Regions from separate parts of the Homo sapiens genome. Here region 2 is linked to region 1. The links are contacts of gene promoters, found by promoter capture Hi-C in human tissues and cell types (Jung and others, 2019). All regions are on one chromosome and are shown on one strand. The core of a region is centred on a gene start or on the middle of the fragment in contact, and the rest is flanking DNA. Distances in the headings are between cores, read along the strand shown.

Evidence for each region. The method cuts DNA at HindIII sites, captures the fragments that hold promoters and counts their contacts. A contact is called where the count stands out against the background at its distance.
Region 2: a contact is called between a fragment that was not itself captured here and the fragment with the promoter of TRIM7 in region 1, in 2 of the 25 tissues and cell types used here (pancreas and spleen).

What each region holds. Positions count from the first base shown.
Region 1 is chr5:181,203,870-181,206,445 of GRCh38, forward strand. It overlaps TRIM7 (tripartite motif containing 7), which reads right to left and starts at 1,327. Exons shown (of 7, transcript NM_203293.3): 1 at 720-1,327. The coding sequence starts at 1,241. RefSeq lists silencers at 586-655, 696-1,025, 1,286-1,605. The HindIII fragment of the contact is 13,460 bases long and covers 1-2,576 here.
Region 2 is chr5:180,881,078-180,888,038 of GRCh38, forward strand. No RefSeq gene overlaps it. Among named protein-coding and RNA genes, the nearest start is that of BTNL8, 15 kb to the right of the region's middle. The HindIII fragment of the contact is 4,215 bases long and covers 1,417-5,631 here.

The sequences.
Region 1 (2,576 bases), core at 77-2,576:
TCCGGCAGCCCTACCCCTAGTCGTCTCCTCTACTCTCCGCCCCCCCACCAGGAAGCCCCGTGGCTGGGAGAGTTGGAGCAGGATGGGCCAGCAAGGAGAGACTGGGGACTGCCGCCCGAGCCTCCCCGCCCCGCCCTCACCCCTGCACACACCCTCGCTGAGGCTCAGCGAGAAAATAGCAAAGAAAGGGCCCCCAGAATCGACAGCGTTGGCACAGTCAGACGGCTCTAGGTGCGCGGCTTAACCCGGGAGCCCCCTCCCTGGACATCTTGGCGAGGTCCTCTCACTCAGTTCCACGAGGTGGGGACTTTGAGCAGAGCCCGCTTCGGGGAAAGAGATAAGAGTGGGGGCAGCGGCTGCGTGGCTGTGCCGGAGACTTCCCGCGGGCAGAGAGCTGCGGAGACGCAGACCAGGCTAGAGGCTCCGAACAGACAGGAAGAACATCGCCAAGTCCGTGGGGGACGTCGCGCAGGCGGCCCAGTATCTGGCCCAGAGGGAAACGCAGTGGGGGTGGGGTGGGGGTATTGGTGATGTTGGGGGTGACAGAGAACCGCGCTCAGCCCGGGAACCAGCGCTGGGCTTCCTGGAATGGAGAAAGAAGGGAGGGGCTCACCCGGGCCTCCTGATCGACAGGCTGTTCTCTGCACCCCGTGCGCGGGAGCGCGGGACCAAGTCAGGGGGTCCCGGGGACCCACGGGGTGGGTGGGGGCTGCGCTCACCTTGGCCTCCTGCACCGCCTCGTCCAGCGGCAGCACGGCGTGCTCGCGGTGCTCGCGGGCGCGGTCGCACACCACGCAGATGGCGCGTCCGTCGTCCTGGCAGTAGAGCTTGAAGGGTTCGCCATGCTGCCCGCAGCGGGCAGCCGCTGCCCGGGCCGCGGCCGCCTGAGACCCGTGCTCTCCCGGGGCAGCCGCGGGCAGGCTGAAGCGCCGCAGGAGCGTGGCCACTGCCGCCAGCTGCCGGTTGGGCCGCAGCTGACTGGGGCGCGCGGGCTCGCGGCACTGCGGACAGGGCAGTGGGAAGGGGGGCGCGCGGGTGGCGGCCCCAACAGACCCCGCGCCCGGGCGCTCCCAGCAGCGCCCTATGCAGGCGCGGCAGAAGCTGTGGCCGCACTCGACGGACACCGGCTCACGAAAGAGCTCTAGGCAGATGGAGCACGTCGCCTCGCCCTGCAGCTCTGCCGCCAGCGCTAGAGCCTCGGCGCCGGTTCCGGGGCCGGTCCGCGGTCCCACAGCCGCCATGCGCGCTCTCCGCGCACCCAGATCTGGTCGCGCCTGGGCGGCCACTGGACCTCACAGGACGCGGAGCTGGGCGCCGAGGGCCCACTGGGAGAGGAAGGGCGGGGCTGCCACTGGGCAGGCAGAGACTCGAGCCCGGGGCGCGCCCGGCTGGGAGCCGGGAGGGGAGGCGCACGTTGACTACGGGCCATTCAAGTGCGGGACAGCGCCCTGCGCCCCGGATCTGCGCTCCACCAGCCCCCGCCCTGGCCAGCGGCCTCTCCCCCTCGCCCCCGTCCCTCAGACTCTCCAGGCCGCCCCAGCCTGACCCAGTCAGCCGCGGGAAACGGGCCGCGACAGGTGGGCGCACAAATGCTGCCAGCGCCACTCCCGGTTTCCGACCGAGGCCGACCCAGCATCGCCGGGGCAAGGGCCTGGCGCTCGGGCCACGGTGTCAGGTTCCGCCAGCGCAGGTTCGCCCCGGCCCTGTGCTGAGTTAAATTTAGAGACTGGAACCTGGTCCTGTCCCCTCACGCGCAAGCGTGGCCTTGTATCCATTCCATTACCTTTTCTGCGACTGTCCTCCGGCTTCTTTACTCTTTACTTAGTATTTGAACAGATAACACATTTATAATTTCCCATTGTATTCAGTATTATTCCCCCCCCACCGCACACACACACACACACACACACACACACACAAACCTCAGCGCTCTCTTGTCCCCCAGCTGTCTCCACAGCCCCGCAGCAGAGCTGCCTGTGTTATCCGCTTCCACACCCTCTCTCCTCGCTCACTCTGGAGGCCACTTGGATCAAGCTTTCGCCCGCACCCTCCTCAGAAACCGCCCTTGCCAATGTCACCGGGAACTTCAGCAATTCTCACCCAAAGGCGAAGACCTCGCCTCACCTCATCTGCCCCCGGATGCTCCCTCCTTCCCGACTTCCCTTCTCAGGGCCTTCCAGGACCCAGTGTCCCCGATCTTCTTGCTGTTCCTGAACCCCGTGGCCTCTGCGCTGGCTGTTCCCCTTGCGTGGACCTCTTTTCTCCCACCACCTGCATGCTCCCTCCCACCTCATTCAGGTCTTGTTTCAAACGTCTCTGCCCACGAAGCCCGCCCCGAACGCGCACACTGTGTAAAGTCGTCTCTTAGCGCGCTCCCTTCTCAGGGCCGGCTCTGTGCCCGCACTCTATCTCCTCTGGAATGTCAGCTTTCAGATGGACTGTACTAGGTTTGTTCACGGCTGAATCCTGTTTTTAGAGCAGTTCTTGGCAAGCTCAGTAAGGTTTTCTTGGATTAAACTTGGTTCGAAATTCAAAAGAGGAGCCGCAGTTCACGGTGGAAAGTAGGCCCATCGCCT
Region 2 (6,961 bases), core at 2,274-4,773, 320 kb before region 1:
ACTTTTTAATGATCGCCATCCTAACTGGCATGAGATGGTATCTCATTGTGGTTTTGATTTGCATTTCTCTGATGACCAGTCATGATGAGCATTTTTTCATATGTCTGTTGGCTGCATAAATGTCATCTTTTGAGAAGCGTCTGTTCATATCCTTTGCCCACGTTTTGATGGGTTTTTTTTCTTGTAAATTTGTTTAAGTTCTTTGTAGATTCTGGATATTATCCCTTTGTCAGATGGATAGATTGCAAAAATTTTCTCCCATTCTGTAGGTTGCCTGTTCACTCTGATGATAGTTTCTTTTGCTATGCAGAAGCTCTTTAGTTTAATTAGATCCCATTTGTCAATTCTGGCTTTTGTTGCCCTTGCTTTTGGTGTTTTAGTCATGAAGTCTTTGCCCATGCTTATGTCCTGAATGGTATTGCCTAGGTTTTCTTCTAGGGTTTTTATGGTGTTAGGTCTTACATTTAAGACTTTACTCCATCTTGAGTTAATTTTTGTATACAGTGTAAGGAAGGGATCCAGTTTCAGCTTTCTACATATGACTAGCCAGTTTTCCCAGCACCATTTATTAAATAGGGAATCCTTTAAGCATTGCTTGTTTTTGTCAGGTTTGTCAAAGATCAGATGGTTGTAAATGTGTGGTATTATTTCTGAGGCCTCTGTTCTGTTCCATTGGTCTATATGTCTGTTTCGGAACCAGTACCATGCTGTTTTGGTTACTGTAGGCTTGTAGTATAGTTTGAAGTCAGGTAGCGTGATGCCTCCAGCTTTGTTCTTTTTGCTTAGGATTGTCTTGGCTGTGCGGGCTCTTTTTTAGTTCCATATGAACTTTAAAGTAGTTTTTTCCAATTCTGTGAAGAAAGTCAGTGGTAGCTTGATGGGGATAGCATTGAATCTATAAATTACCTTGGGCAGTATGGCCATTTTCATGATATTGACTCTTCCTATTCATGAGCATGGAATGTTCTTCCATTTGTTTGTGTCCTCTTTTATTTCGTTGAGCAGTGGTTTGTAGTTCTGCTTGAAGAGGTCCTTCACATCCCTTGTAAGTTAGATTCCTAGGTATTTTATTCTCTTTGTAGTAATTGTGAATGTGAGGTCACTCGTGATTTGGCTCTCTGTTTGTCTATTATTGGTGTATAGGAATGCTTGTGATTTTTGCACATTGATTTTGTATCCTGAGACTTTGCTGAAGTTGCTTATCAGCTTAAGGAGATTTGGGGCTGAGATGATGGGGTTTTCTAAATATACAATCATGTTACCTGCAAACAGGGACAATTTGACTTCCTCTTTTCCTAATTGTATACCCTTCATTTCTTTCTCTTGGCTGATTGCCCAGGCCAGGACTTCCAACACTATGTTGAATAGGAGTGGTGAGAGAGGACATCCTTGCTTGTGCTGCTTTTCAAAGGCAATGCTTCCAGTTTTTGCCCATTCAGTATGGTATTGGCTGTGGGTTTGCCATAAATACCTCTTATTATTTTGAGATACGTTCCATCAATACCTAGTTTATTGAGAGTATTTAGCATGAAGGGCTGTTGAATTTTGTTGAAGGCCTTTTCTGCATCTATTGAGATAATCATGTGGTTTTTGTCTTTGGTTCTGTTTATGTGATGGATTACGTTTATTGATTTGCATATGTTGAACCAGGCTTGTATCCCAGGGATGAAGCCAACATGATTGTGGTGGACAAAGTTTTTGATGTGCTGCTGGATTTGGTTTGCCAGTGTTTTCTTGAGGATTTTCACATCGATGTTCATCAGGGATATTGGTCTAAAATTCTCTTTTTTGTTGTTTCTCTGCCAGGCTTTGGTATCAGCATGATACTGGCCTCATAAAATGAGTTAGGGAGGATTCCCTCTTTTTCTATTCTTTGGAATAGTTTCAGAAGGAATGGTATCAGCTCCTCTTTGTACCTCTGGTAGAATTCGGCTCTGAATCCGTCTGGTCCTGGGCTTTTTTTGGTTGGTAAGCTATTAATTACTGCCTGAATTTCAGGACCTGTTATTGGTCTATTCAGAGATTCAACTTCTTCCTGGTTTAGTCTTGGGAGGGTGTATGTGGAATTTATCCATTTCTTCTAGATTTTCTAGTTTATTCGTGTAGAGGTGTTTCTAGTATTCTCTGATCGTAGTTTGTATTTCTGTGGGATCGGTGGTGATATCCCCTTTATCATTTTTTATTGCATCTATTTGATTCTTCTCTCTTTTCTCCTTTATTAGTCTTGCTAGTGGTCTATGTATTTTGTTGATCTTTTAAAAAAAACCAGCTCCTGGATTTATTGATTTTTTGAAGGGTTTTTTGTGTCTCTGTCTCCTTCAGTTCTGCTCTGATCTTAGTTATTTCTTGTCTTCTGCTAGCTTTTGAATTTGCTTGCTCTTGCTTCTCTAGTTCTTTTAACTGTGATGTTAGGGTGTCAATTTTAGATCTTTCCTGCTTTCTCTTGTGGGCATTTAGTGCTATAAATTTCCCTCTACACACTGCTTTGAATGTGTCCTAGAGATTCTGGTATGTTGTGTCTTTGTTCTCATTGGTTTCAAAGAAAATCTTTATTTCTGCCTTTATTTCATACCCGGTAGTCATTCAGGAGCAGGTTGTTCAATTTCCATGTATTTATGTGGTTTTGAGTGAGTTTCTTAATCCTGAGTTCTAATTTGATTGGACTGTGGTCTGAGAGACTGTTTGTTATGATTTCTGTTCTTTTACATTTGCTGAGGAGTGTTTTTACTTCCAATTATGTGGTCAATTTTAGAATAAGTACAATGTGGTGCTGAGAAGAATGTATATTCTGTTGATCTGGGGTGGAGAGTTCTGTAGATGTCTATTAGGTCAGCTTGGTCCAGAGCTCTGTTCAAGTCCTGGATATACTTGTTAACCTTCTGTCTCATTGATCTACCTAATATTGACAGTGGGGTGTTAAAGTCTCCCATTATTATTGTGTGGGAGTCTAAGTCTCTTTGTAGGTCTCTAAGGACTTGCTCTAAGAATCTGGGTGCTTCTGTATTGGGTGCATATATATTTAGCATAGTTAGCTCTTCTTGTTGAATTGATCCCTTTACCATTATGTGGTGGCCTTCTTTGTCTCTTTTGATCTTTGTTGGTTTAAAGTCTGTTTTATCAGAGACTAGGATTGCAACCTCTGCTTTTCTTTTTGCTTTCCATTTGCTTGGTAGATCTTCCTCCATCCCTTTATTTTGAGCGTATGTGCGTCTTTGCACGTGAGATGGGTCTCCTGAATACAGCACACAGATGGGTCTTGACTCTTTATCCAATTTGCCAGTCTGTGTCTTTTAATTGGGGCATTTAGCCCATTTACATTTAAGGTCAGTATTGTTATGTTTGAATGTGATCCTGTCATTATGATGTTAGCTGGTTATTTTGCCTGTTAATTGATGCAGTTTCTTCATAGTGTCAATGGTCTTTACAATTTGGCATGTTTTTGCAGTGGCTGGTACCAGTTGTTCCTTTCCATTTCCATGTTTAGTGCTTCCTTCAGGAGCTCTTGTAAGGCAGGCCTGGTGGTGACAAAATCTCTCAGCATTTGCTTGTCTGTAAAGGATTTTATTTCTCCTTCACTTATGAAGCTTAGTTTGGCTGGATATGAAATTCTGGGTTGAAAATTCTTTTCTTTCAGAATGTTGAATATTGACCCCCACTCTCTTCTGGCTTGTAGAGTTTCTGCCAAGTGATCCACTGTTAGTCTGATGGGCTTCCCTTTGAGGGTAACCCGACCTTTCTCCCTGGCTGCCCTTAACATTTTTTCCTACATTTCAACCTTGGTGAATCTGACAATTATGTGTCTTGGGATTGCTCTTCTCAAGGAGTATCTTTATGGTATTCTCTGTATTTCCTGAATTTGAATGTTGGCCTGTCTTGCTAGGTTGGGGAAGTTCTCCTGCATAATATTCTGAAGAGTGTTTTCCAACTTGGTTCCATTCCCCCCGTCACTTTCAGGTACACCAATCAAATGTATATTTGGTCTTTTCACATAGTCCCATATTTCTTGGAGGCTTTGTTTGTTTCTTTTCACTCTTTTTTCTCTGATCTTGTCTTCTTGCTTTATTTCATTAATTTGATTTTCAATCACTGATATGCTTTCTTCCACTTGATCAAATCGGCTACTGAAGCTTGTGCATGCGTCACAAAGTTCTCATGCTGTGTATTTCAGCTCCATCAGGTCATTTAAGGTCTTCTCTACACTGGTTATTCTAGTTAGCCATTTGTCTAACCTTTTTTCAAGGTTTTTAGCTTCCTTGTGATGGGTTAGAGCATGCTCCTTTAGCTCGGAGGAGTTTGTTATTACTGACCTTCTGAAGCCTACTTCTGTCAATTCATCAAACTCATTCTCCATCCAGTTTTGTTCCCTTGCTGGTGAGGAGCTGTGATCCTTTGGAGGAGAAGAGACGCTCTGGTTTTTGGAATTTTCCACTTTTCTGTTCTGGTTTCTCTCCATCTTGTGGTTTTATCTACCTTTGGTCTTTGATGTTGGTGACCTACAGATGGGGTTTTGGTGTGGATGTCCTTTTTGTTGATGTTGAAGCTATTCCTTTCTGTTTGTTAGTTTTCCTTCTAACGGTCAGGCCCCTCAGCTTCAGGTCTGTTTGGAGTTTGCTGGAGGTCCACTCCACACCCTGTTTGCCTGGGTATCACCAGTGGAGGCTGCAAAACAGCAAATATTGCTGCCTGATCCTTCCTCTGGAAGCTTCATCCCAGAGGGGCACCCACCTATTTGAGGTGTCTGTTGGCCTCTACTGGGAGGTGTCTCCCAGTCAGGCTACACGGGGGTCAGGGACCCACCCGAAGAGGCAGTCTGTCCGTTCTTGGAGCTCAAATGCCATGCTAAGAGAACCACTGCTCTCTTCAGAGCTGTCAGACAGGGACGTTTAAGTCTGTAGAAGCTGCCTACTGACTTTTGTTCTACTATGCCCTGCCCTCAGAGGTGGAATCTAGAGAGGCAGTAGGCCTTGCTGAGCTGCAGTGGGCTCCGCCCAGTTCAAGGTTCCTGGCTGCTTTGTTTACACAGTGAGCCACTCAAGCCTCAGCAATGGTGGACACTCCTCCCCCTGTCAAGCTGCAGCATCGCAGGTTGATCTCAGACTGCCGTGCTGGCAGCGAGCAAGGCTCTGTGAGCATGGGACCCAGCAAGCCAGGCACAGGAGGGTATCTCCTGGTTTGCCAGTTGCTAAGACCGTGGGAGAAGTGCAGTATTTGGCTAGGAGTGTACTGTTTCTCCAGGTATAGTCTGTCATGGCTTCCCTTGGCTAGGAAAGGGAAATCCCCTGCCCCTTGTGCTTCCCAGGTGAGGTGATGCCCTGCCCTACTTCAGCTTGCCCTCCATGGGCTGCACCCACTGTCCAACCAGTCCCAGTGAGATGAGCCAGGTACCTCAGTTGGAAATGCAGAAATCACTCATCTTCTGCATTGATCTCGCTGGGAGCTGCAGACCGGAGTTGTTCCTATTTGGCCATCTTAGAAGCGACCCACAATATCTAGTTTTTTTTGAGATAGAGTCTCACTCTGTCACCCAGGCTAGAGTGCAGTGGCGCAATCTTGGCTCACTGCAACCTCTGCCTCCAGGGTTCAAGTGATTCTCCTGCCTCAGCCTCCCGAGTAGCTGGGATTACAGGTGTGTGCCACCACGCCCAGTTAATTTTTGTATTTTTAGTAGAGATGGGGTTTCAACATGTTGGTCAGGCTCATCTCGAATTCCTGACCTCATGATCTGCCCGCCTCGGCCTTGCAAAGTGCTGGGATTACAGGCGTGAGCCACTGCTCCCGGCCAGAATTTTACTTTTATACATGAATTGTTAAGAGTTTTTTGTTCGTTTTGAGAAGGAATCTCACTCTGTCACCCAGGCTGCAGTGCAGTGGTGCAATCTTGGCTCACTACAGCCCCTGCCTCCTGGGTTCAAGTGACTCTCCTGTCTCAGCCTCCTGAGTAGCTGGGACTACAGGCACACACCATTACCTCTGGCTAATTTTTGTATTTTCAGTAGAGACGGGATTTCACCTTGTTGGCCAGGCTGGTCTCGAACTCCTGACCTCAAGTGATCTACCCACTTCGGCCTCCCAAAGTGCTGGGTTTACAGGTGTGAGCCACTGCACCTGACCATTAAGAGTTTTTTAAATCAAGAATGGACGTGGAATTTTGTCAAATACTTTTCTGTGTCAATTGAGATAATCATGTGGTTTTCTGTTTTTCGTGCTGTAAATGTGATGTATTACATTGATTGAGTATGTTAACCAGCCTTTCATGCCAAGGATAAATCCCACTTGGTGATGACGTATACTGTTTTTGATGTGTTTGATGAATTTGGTTTGCTAATATTTGACTGAGGAGTTTTGCATTATATGAGTTATTGGCCTATAGTTTTTTTTTTTTTTTTTGGCCTAAAGACACCTATTGTGGTGTCTTTTTCTTGCTTAGTTGTGAAAGTGATGCTGGCCTTGTAAAGTATGTTGTAAGTATTCTCCCAGCTCTATTTTCTGGGACAGTTAAGTGGTAATAATTCTTCTTTGAATGTTTGGTAAAATTCAGCCATAAAGCCATCTGGTCCCAAGCTTTATTTCTGTTGGAAGGTTTCTAATTACTTCTTCAGTGTCTTTATTTATTATTATAATAGTTTGTTCAAGCTTTCTATTTCTTCCTAATTTATTCTTAAAAGTTACTGTTTTATAGTAGTTTATTAACTTTTATAAGTTGTGCCATTTGTTGGCAGATGCTTTTTCATAATTGTTTATTATGATGTTTTTTATTTTTGAGGCATGTATTGTATGGTCTTCATTTATATTTCTGATTTTATTTATTCCAGTCTTTTTTTTTTCTTAGTCTATCTTGGAATTTGATATTATTTATTTTTCAAGGCTGGGCACAGTGGCTCATGCATGTAATCCCAGCACTTTGGGAGGCCGAGGCAGCGGATCACCCGAGAGGTCAGGAGTTCGAGACTGGCTTGGCCAA